2 separate regions of the Homo sapiens genome follow, and region 1 is linked to region 2. Evidence: promoter capture Hi-C in 16 types of primary human blood cells and fetal thymus (Javierre and others, 2016). All regions are on one chromosome and are shown on one strand. Each heading gives the region's core, a stretch centred on a gene start or on the middle of the fragment in contact. The rest is flanking DNA. Distances are from core to core; before and after follow the strand shown. Region 1 overlaps AFF1 (ALF transcription elongation factor 1). Region 2 holds the start of KLHL8 (kelch like family member 8).

What was found. The method cuts DNA at HindIII sites, captures the fragments that hold promoters and counts their contacts. A CHiCAGO score of 5 or more calls a contact.
Region 1: a fragment that was not itself captured here is called in contact with the fragment with the promoter of KLHL8 in region 2 in 1 of 17 cell types (naive CD8 T cells); the score reaches 5.3 in naive CD8 T cells.

What each region holds. Positions count from the first base shown.
Region 1 is chr4:86,950,082-86,954,294 of GRCh38, forward strand. All of the region lies in intron 2 of AFF1 (ALF transcription elongation factor 1), which reads left to right. It also overlaps the pseudogene TECRP1. Among named protein-coding and RNA genes, the nearest start is that of AFF1, 17 kb to the left of the region's middle. The HindIII fragment of the contact is 5,877 bases long and covers 1-4,213 here.
Region 2 is chr4:87,218,433-87,222,745 of GRCh38, forward strand. KLHL8 (kelch like family member 8) reads right to left here and starts at 2,186. Exons shown (of 10, transcript NM_020803.5): 1 at 1,986-2,186. RefSeq lists an enhancer at 1,188-1,800 and silencers at 1,306-1,575, 1,916-2,405. The HindIII fragment of the contact is 8,812 bases long and covers 1-4,090 here.

The sequences.
Region 1 (4,213 bases), core at 27-2,526, 270 kb before region 2:
AGCCCCAGTAGTAGGTGCAGTTCTGAAAGGGAGCAGGGCAGGGATGGGACTTGGGCCAGCACCGGACAAGGCAGATGCTGCCCATGTCTCATCCCGAGGTATTATTATTTTTTTAAGACAAAGTTTCGCTATTGTTGCCCCGGCTGGAGTGCAGTGCCATGATCTTGGCTCACTGCAACCTCTGCCTCCCGGGTTCAAGGGATTCCCCTGCCTCAGCCTCCCAATTAGCTGGGACTACAGGCGCATGCCCCGACACCTGGCTAATTTTTGGTAGAGACGGGGTTTCACCATGTTGGCAGGCTGGCCCCGAATTCCTAACCTCAGGTGATCCACCTGCCTTGGCCTCCCAAAGTGCTGGGATTACAGGCGTGAGCCGCTGTGCCCAGCCATAATTTCTATTTATAATAGAATTCTTTTCCCACTTCTTGCTACTGCATTTCACTAGTCTAAAAAATAAAAACATTATAAGAAATGTAGACTCAGACTTATTTATAATGCAACAGAATAGATGATGGTGCCTGCAATTGTGGACCATCCCAAATGTTCTCCTACTTCTCCCCCTTTCTGGTTCATTTAGGAAATTATTCAATTCCTGGTCATCATTGTGGGCTGCTAAACTTGGTTTACTCTCTCCCCTCACCAAAGGGAAGACAGTTAGTTGACCCTGGCTGCTGCAGTTCACATTCTGCTAGAGCCTGGGGGAAAGCTGTTGTCATTTGTCTTTAGGTTTATTCATAATGTTGGGTTTACACATACGTTTTACATTTTTATGTAGTTAAATGTCTTGTCCTTTATGGGTTCTGGCTTGATTGTGCTTAGAAAGGTCTTTCCTCCTCCAAGATTGTGAAAATAATGTCATGTGTTCTTTGCTGGCACTTGTACGATTTCATTTTTGCATTTAAATCAGAACTTGTAAGCTGGTGGACTGTGGGACAGATCTGGTCAACATATGGGTTTTGGTTAGCCTGTCACGGAATTCTGAAAGAAATTATCTGCCAGTGTTTTTTACATAACAATCTTCTATCTTCTCATGAAAAATGTAAGATTTAGCAACCCTGGGCTTGCATTGTCATATAGCAATGCTCAGAAAGAATTGAATAGCTTCGGCTCTTTTAAGCGGAACACAGGCTTTCTAATTCAGAACTTCCCAATTGGTGTGCCATCAAATGCTTTTCAGGTGTGCCACGATGTTGATTCCCCGCCCCCCAGCCTAAAGGTCAGCCAGAGCTCCTATCTAATTTCCTCCTGCAGACATCATCTGCTTTGTCCGTTTGCCCCAGAGACTTGATGTCACAAAAAAAAAAAATTGAGAAAGCACTGACGCTTTTCAATTCGTTACAGTTCTCTGCACAGCCAGATTCACACATTTAGTTAGCTGCTTGACCCTCTTAACTTGCAACCCATTTTACATCTTTGACTTTTTAGTATTTTGATCCACATGTAGTTAACTTGAATATATATTGTACATTTCATATTAATAGGAAAAGGTAAAGATGGGGGATGTTAGGGAACTTTTTTTTCTTTTTCTTTTTTCTTTTTTTCTTTTTTTTTTTTTTTTTTGAGACGGAGTCTCCCTCTGTCACCAGGCTGAAGTGCAGTGGCATGATCTTGGCTCACTACAACCTCCACCTCCAGGTTCAAGCAATTCTCCTGCCTCAGCCTCCTGAGTAGCTGGGACTACAGGCACACCATGCCCAGCTAATTTTTGTATTTTTAGTAGAGACGGGTTTCACCATGTTGGCCAGGATGGTCTCGATATCTTGACCTCATGATCTGCCCGCCTTGGCCTCCCAAAGTGCTGGGATTACAGGCGTGGGCCACCACATCTGGCTGGGAACCTTTTTTTTTTTTTTTTTAAAGCAAAAAGCTAGACAATTGTTTCATCATTTTTTATTAAATCACCTGTCTTTTCTCCACAGATACAAATGCTATGTCTAAATTTTATCACAGTCTTGGGTCTGTTGTTGGGCTGTCTTTTGCTCCATTGATGTGTCTTTTGGCAACTGTGGCATATTGTTTCACTGTATCTTTATATGTCATAATATTGAGGCAGATTCTTTGTAATTCTTGTTTTTAGAATTTTCATAGCTATTCATTCTCATGCTTCTCAGTGTATTCTGAAGTCATTCATCATTTTCTAGAAAATTTATGATTGGCATTTTGATTGGAATCCCTTGGAATTCATCAGTTAGAGTTGACTACTGTAGGCTATTAAAACGTCTTCCTATAAGAATGTAGATATCAGACTGGTGAAAATTTAAGGAGCTGAAGTAATTTTAAATTTTAATTGTAAGATTTTCGTGGAGGTGATTTTTCAAAAAGGTTTAGTTACTGATGTTGGTTCCTGTGTTATTTCTGGTAGATGAATCAATTATATTAGGTAAAAGTATTATCATTGGCATGATTAAAAAGATGTTTTAGCTTAAAACCTAAATGATGGGTTGATAGGTACAGCAAGCCACCACAGCATGTGTATACAACCTGCATGTTCTGCACATGTATGTAACAAACCTGCATGTTCTGCACGTGTGTTTAACAAACCTGCATGTTCTGCACATGTATCCCAGGACTTAAAGTAAAAAAAAACAAAAAAACAAAAACACAACTTTTTTTTTTTTTTTTTTTGAGATGGAGTCTCACTCTGTCCCTCAGGCTGGAGTGCAGTGGCGTGATCTTGGCCCCTCTGCCTCCCGGGTTCAAGCGTTTCTCCTGCCTCAGCCTCCTGAGTAGCTGGCACTACAGGCACCCACCACCACGCCCGGCTACTTTTTGTATTTTGTATTTTTTATTTATTTATTTATTTTCAGTAGAGATGTGGTTTCACCATATTGTCCAGGCTGGTCTCAAACTCCTGACCTTGTGTTCCCCTCCACCCCCACTACCCACCCCCACCTTCAGCCTCCCAAAGTGCTAGGATTACAGGCCTGAGCCATGGCGCCCAGCAAAAAGAAAAAAGATACTTTATATTCTATGACATATTTTTTTTGTTTTGCTAGTTATTAAGTTTGGATGGGTAACTGCCCCTTATAGTAACATTCTAGCAATTACAGAGCTGTTTTTATTATTTGTTACTTTTATCATAATTTCTAGCTCCTCACCTCCTCAATATGCTCCTTTTAGTTTTAGTACCTACTACAAGTGGTAAGTTTGGGGATATCCTTTAAAAAGCTCTATTTTTAATACACACCAGTAGCTCACTTGTTTAAATGTTTAATCATGATAGGTATTTAATCTTTTATTTGCCCAGAAAAAAACATTAAATTCATGTGGAACTGGTCCAGGACTAGGATATATTTGCAAAGGAAACAGATGTGTATTGAGTACGCAGCTCTAATCATTCAAACTAAATTGAAGTCTGAACGTGAACCCTTACTTTGCTCAGGGCTATCAAAAGTCATAAGCGTGGACAGAATATTAATGTAATGTGCAAAGACAATGTTTTAGTTCTTACAAATAATGAGCTTATTCTGTGACTTCCAGATTTATCGGCACTTGACACTGTTGAATTTGAGCTCACTTATATTTCTTCACCTTCCTTCCGTCCCCCTTTTTAATAGTTCTTTCTAAAAATTGTTATTGGAGTCTAACAGACTGAAAAAGGCAGACATTATTAGTACAGTTTAGTGCATTTTCTTTTCTTTTTTCTTTTTTTTTTGAGATGGAGTTTTGCTCTTGTCGCCCAGGCTGGAATGCAATGGCGCGATCTCGGCTCACTGGAACCTCCATCTCCTGGGTTCAAGCGATTCTCCTGCTTCAGCCTCCCGAGTAGCTGGCGCACCACCACGCCCAGCTAATTTTTGTACGTTTTTAGTAGAGACGGGGTTTCACCATGTTGGCCAGGCTGGGCTCAAACTCCTGACCTTAGGTGATCTACCTGCCTCGGCCTCTCAAAGTGCTGGGATTACAGGCGTGAGCCACCGTGCCCGGCCTAGTTCAGTGCATTTTCATAAAGTGAACACATGTAACAGATTAAGACCAGCTGTCTAGAACTCCTCTCCTTTCCCCTTTCAGCTACTACCTCCCTTAAAAGTCATCACTGTTCTGACTTGTAACACCCTGCATTTGTTTTGTCTGCTTTTCAATTTGATTTAAATATAATCATATAGCATATACTCCTTTATAAAGTTTCCATTCATTTTGATGTTTGTATTAGTTAACCTTCAAACACTGTGAGGTTTAGGGGTAAAATATCTACATGACTTTTGGCTCCCTA
Region 2 (4,313 bases), core at 936-3,435:
GGTCTTGATCTCCTGACCTCTTGATCCGCCCGCCTCGGCCTCCCAAAGTGTTGGGATTACAGGCGTGAGCCACCGCGCCCGGCCCTAACTTTCTTCTTAATGAATGAAGAAATACTGTTTTTAAAAAATAACCCTCACTGAATGTGAACTGAGTTTCTTGTCAAAAAATGTGCAATTATTACAGAATATATCATCTTAACCAATTATCAGTAATCTTATCAAATGCTAAAAGAATTGGCAGCTTTAAAAATTAAAATGATGAAGCTAAGTGCTCATATGTAGTTGAATAGAGTATCCTTAGACTTTTTTTTTCTTTTTTTGAGATGGAGTCTCACTCTGTCGCCCAGGCTGGAGCGCAGTGGCATGATCTCGGTTCACTGCAACCTCCGCCTCCCGGGTTCAAGCCATTCTCCTGTCTTAGCCTCTCGAGTAGCTGAGACTACAGGCATGTGCCACCACGCTCAGCTAATTTTTGTTATTTTTAGTAGAGATGGGGTTTCACCATGTTGGCCAGACTGGTCTCGAAAATCCTGACCTCAAGTGATCCCCCCGCCTCAATCTCCCAAAGTGCTGGGATTACAGGCGTGAGCCACTGCACCCGGCCCCTGAGACACCTCTTTTTATATTTAGGCTTACGCAATTTTGGTATCTTGAAAGCAATTTTTTTAAAAAGTGACGAAATAAATAAAGTGACTAAAAGTTTGAAGTTTGAACTGGGTCAGTTTGACAAATTAAGAAGGGTGCCAGGAGGAAGTCTGAGGAAAAGCAGCAGCTTAATGCCACCGCCATCTCCAAGCAGCGTTCCAGGCGCCAGCACTGTTAGCAGCAGTCCTCTGCGTACCCAAGAGTACCGCAGGGCCAGAACACGAGAAAGATGCGCGAAGAGGATTTCCTTCTAGAGAGAGAATAAAGAACACCAAGAGTCCAACAATTACCATCTTGTATAGGAGAAAAACAATGCAAAGGAAAAAACGTGCAACCAGCAGATAAAATACTTATGTCAACCCAGGTTCTAAGGACCTTTTCCCAAAGTATCCCTCTAAACTGGTAACATTAGCTTAGGGCAGAGTCAAGAAGAAAGTTATGCCATTAACACAGATGAAAATACTGAACGTTTTCTATGAAAAGTCACCCGATTAAACACTGCCAAGAGGGAAAAACAGTGCAAGTCCAGTAAAGCACGAGACACGTAGAAAATTCAAGCTATGTAGCCAAATCGCTCTCTCTGAAGAAAACAGCAAGCCAACTGAACCCAGCACGGAGTGGAAGGCGTAAAGAGCTGTCATCGTGGCGGTAACAACTCCACCGGGCGGCTGAGCGTCTAGAAAGAGGCTGCGGTTCCTGGTTCCACATCAGGAGGCACTCTCCACAAGGTCTACACCGCCGCTCCCGGGAAGGCACCTCCAGGGCGGCCAGCAAGCCCCCCGAGTGGGGACAGGCAGTGCCTTCCTCGCCTCGTCCCCGCGCGGCGTGGCCCGGAGGTGGCCCACTCGCCCCGCCCCCGCAGGCCGCGGCTCCAGGGGGCGTCCGGCCGCCCTCCCGGGGCCCCGAACCCGCGCCAGCCGCACCGCGCCTGCCCTCTTCCTGGACCCCGCGAAGCACCTGCCTGGGCCCCTCTTCGAAAGACTGGGAGGAAGGAGTCAAGGAGCTGCCGGGGAGGCTGACAGAGCCAGAGGCTGGAGCTCCCCTACGGGAGCCGGGAGCATAACCCTGCTCCTCCCGCCAATGGGGGCGACAAAAGCCGTGGAAGGTTGCTCAGGGGCTGGATCTCCTGCTGTCCGGGCCCCAAGCCCTCTCAGCTGTGGAGTTTCGGTTGGTGCACGAGGGCTCGAATTTCCTCCGCACACCGGAGACCCAAGACGGGACGGTGTTGCGACTTGGGGGCTGGGGTGAGGGAGGGCTCGGCGCGAGCGGACGGCACCGCACAAAGGAAGAGGGGACTGAGGGGAGACGAGGGGACTGAGGGGAGACGAGCGTCCCGTTACCTCGATCCTCGACCCTGTTCTTCCTGATGTCGCTAAGGTTGCAGCCACGTTACCACGCTCCCAGAGCCCCGGCCGCCCTCAGCGGAACCTCACCAACCCCGCGCGAGCACCCGGCGGACGCGCGCTCTCCTGCGCGGCCCCGCGGAGCCCCGGCGGGCGCTTGGCGTCCTCTCGCCTCAGCCCCCGCGAGCCGCGGCCTCTGGGGGCGGGGCGGGCTGGGCGGGGCTGCGCACGGCACTCTGGGAAGTGTGGTTCTCGGGACCTCCTCCCCGAGGCCACCCCCACGGCCTCGCCCCCGCGGCTCCCTAGTGGGCGGCCGGGTCTCAGGGACTGGGCAGTGTTGCCCGGCCTGGTGAAGGCGGACCAGGGCGTGGCGGAGGTCCCCATAACAAATCTTGAAATAAAACACTGCCTAAATACCTTTGAGCTTATCCATGCTTCACTTCTGCGGCGGTACAAAATTTAGTTTCTTTGTATGTCCATCAAATCCCCTTCTGCGGTTGTGAGTGTTCCTGGGATTTATGTCTTTGAAAAAAGAAGGGGAAAAAAAGGTTTGCATTTATTCCTGTGTCACTTTCACCACGTGCTCTACAAAGGATATACAAAACAACTGTGTTTATAAATACACACCCACAGTTTGTAAACCTAAGGAAGCAGTTGATTGACCTGAGAGCTCGCTGCTAAAAAGCAGTGCAAGTGGCCATGCGCGGTGGCTCACGCCTGTAATCCCAGCACTTTGGGAGGCTGAGGCGGGCGCATCACGAGGTCAGGAGTCGAGACCATCCTGGCCAACATGGTGAAACTCCGTCTGTACTAAAAATACAAAAATTAGCTGGGCGTGGTTGTGCGTGCCACCAATCCCAGCTATTCGCAAGGCTGAGGCAGGAGAATTGCTTGAACCCGGGAGTCGGAGGTTGCAGTGAGCTGAGATTGTGCCATTGCACTCCAGCCTGGCGACAGAGCAAGACTCCGTCTAAAAAAAAAAAAAAAAAAAAAAAAAGCAATGCAAGTAAAAGTGCTGTTGAAATGAATTAATTTTTCTATAATGTCAATAAAGTGGAATGTGTGAGGCGGGAGATCAAGAGACAGCAAAAAAACAAAATTTTTTTTAAAGAAAGATATTCCCCTAAATGTGTCTTTTGCCAGACTAACCTCAAACTTTCACAATCCTAGGAGTCTATTTCAGAATAAATTTAATCCTAGGACCTTTATTAATATTAACACATATGAACATTAGCACATTGATTTTAATAGAAATGAACATATATATATCTGTATATATATATGCATCTTCTATAAAAACCCCAAAGCAACTATTTGAATTTGAAATTTTATTTCTAGAAAAAAAATCACATTTTTTACATTGAAATATAAATAATTCTTAATATTTCAAAATATTCCTCTTTAGAGCATTAGTATTTTGCACATTTAATGCAAATACCTTTAGAAAAATAGAGTAAGATGAGTTTTAAAGAAGTATGCAGTGAAGAAAAGTCATAAAATGTGTCTGGAACGTGATGTAAAAATTGTTGGGACTCAGAAATCGATACCCCAAAATATGGTGCTTTGCCGCGCTGAACTGAGGAAGCAGCTTCAAGGTGTCTCTTACCTTCCCCATTACCCCTCCTGCCTCTCAATTCTTTGTCTCTCCCAAAGCACCAAATGATGTCGTTCTCTGAATTTCCCTTATCTGCCTAGAAACTAGACCTGCCAAAGAGGAACATATTTGCCTTACCTGATTTTTCATTTACTTAACTCATATTGGAGGAAGAAAGACTGAAGTCTGTCAACACTCTTGGACAGACTTTTGTCACAAACTATTGTCTGCTGTATGGGCTCAACACACTTTTTCCCAGGCCATTGTATGTTCCCCATTTTCCCCTAAAAGTCCTTTACTATACCTTAAGTTGCCACATTTCCCCAATCTCCCTTTCCCCCATAAAGAAGAGTATATAAACGTCTCTACCCCATTGAGTCATTGGGTAATCATTCTCCTGAAATCTCCCTGTGTTATGCACATTAAAATAAATTTTGTATGTCTTTTTTCCTATTAGTCTGCCATTTGACAGTTGATTTTTCAGTGAACCTTCCAAGGGAAAAGGGAAAGCTTCCCTGTATTCCCTTTATTAAACATAAAACACAATATGTATTTTATTTATTTATTTATTTTATTTTATTTTTTTGAGACGGAGTTTTGCTCTTGTCGCCCAGGCTGGAGTGCAGTGGCACAATCTCAGCTCACTGCAACCTCCACCTCCCAGGTTCAAGTGATTCTCCTGCCTCAGCCTCTGCAATAGTTGGGATTACAGGTGTCTGCCACCACGCCCG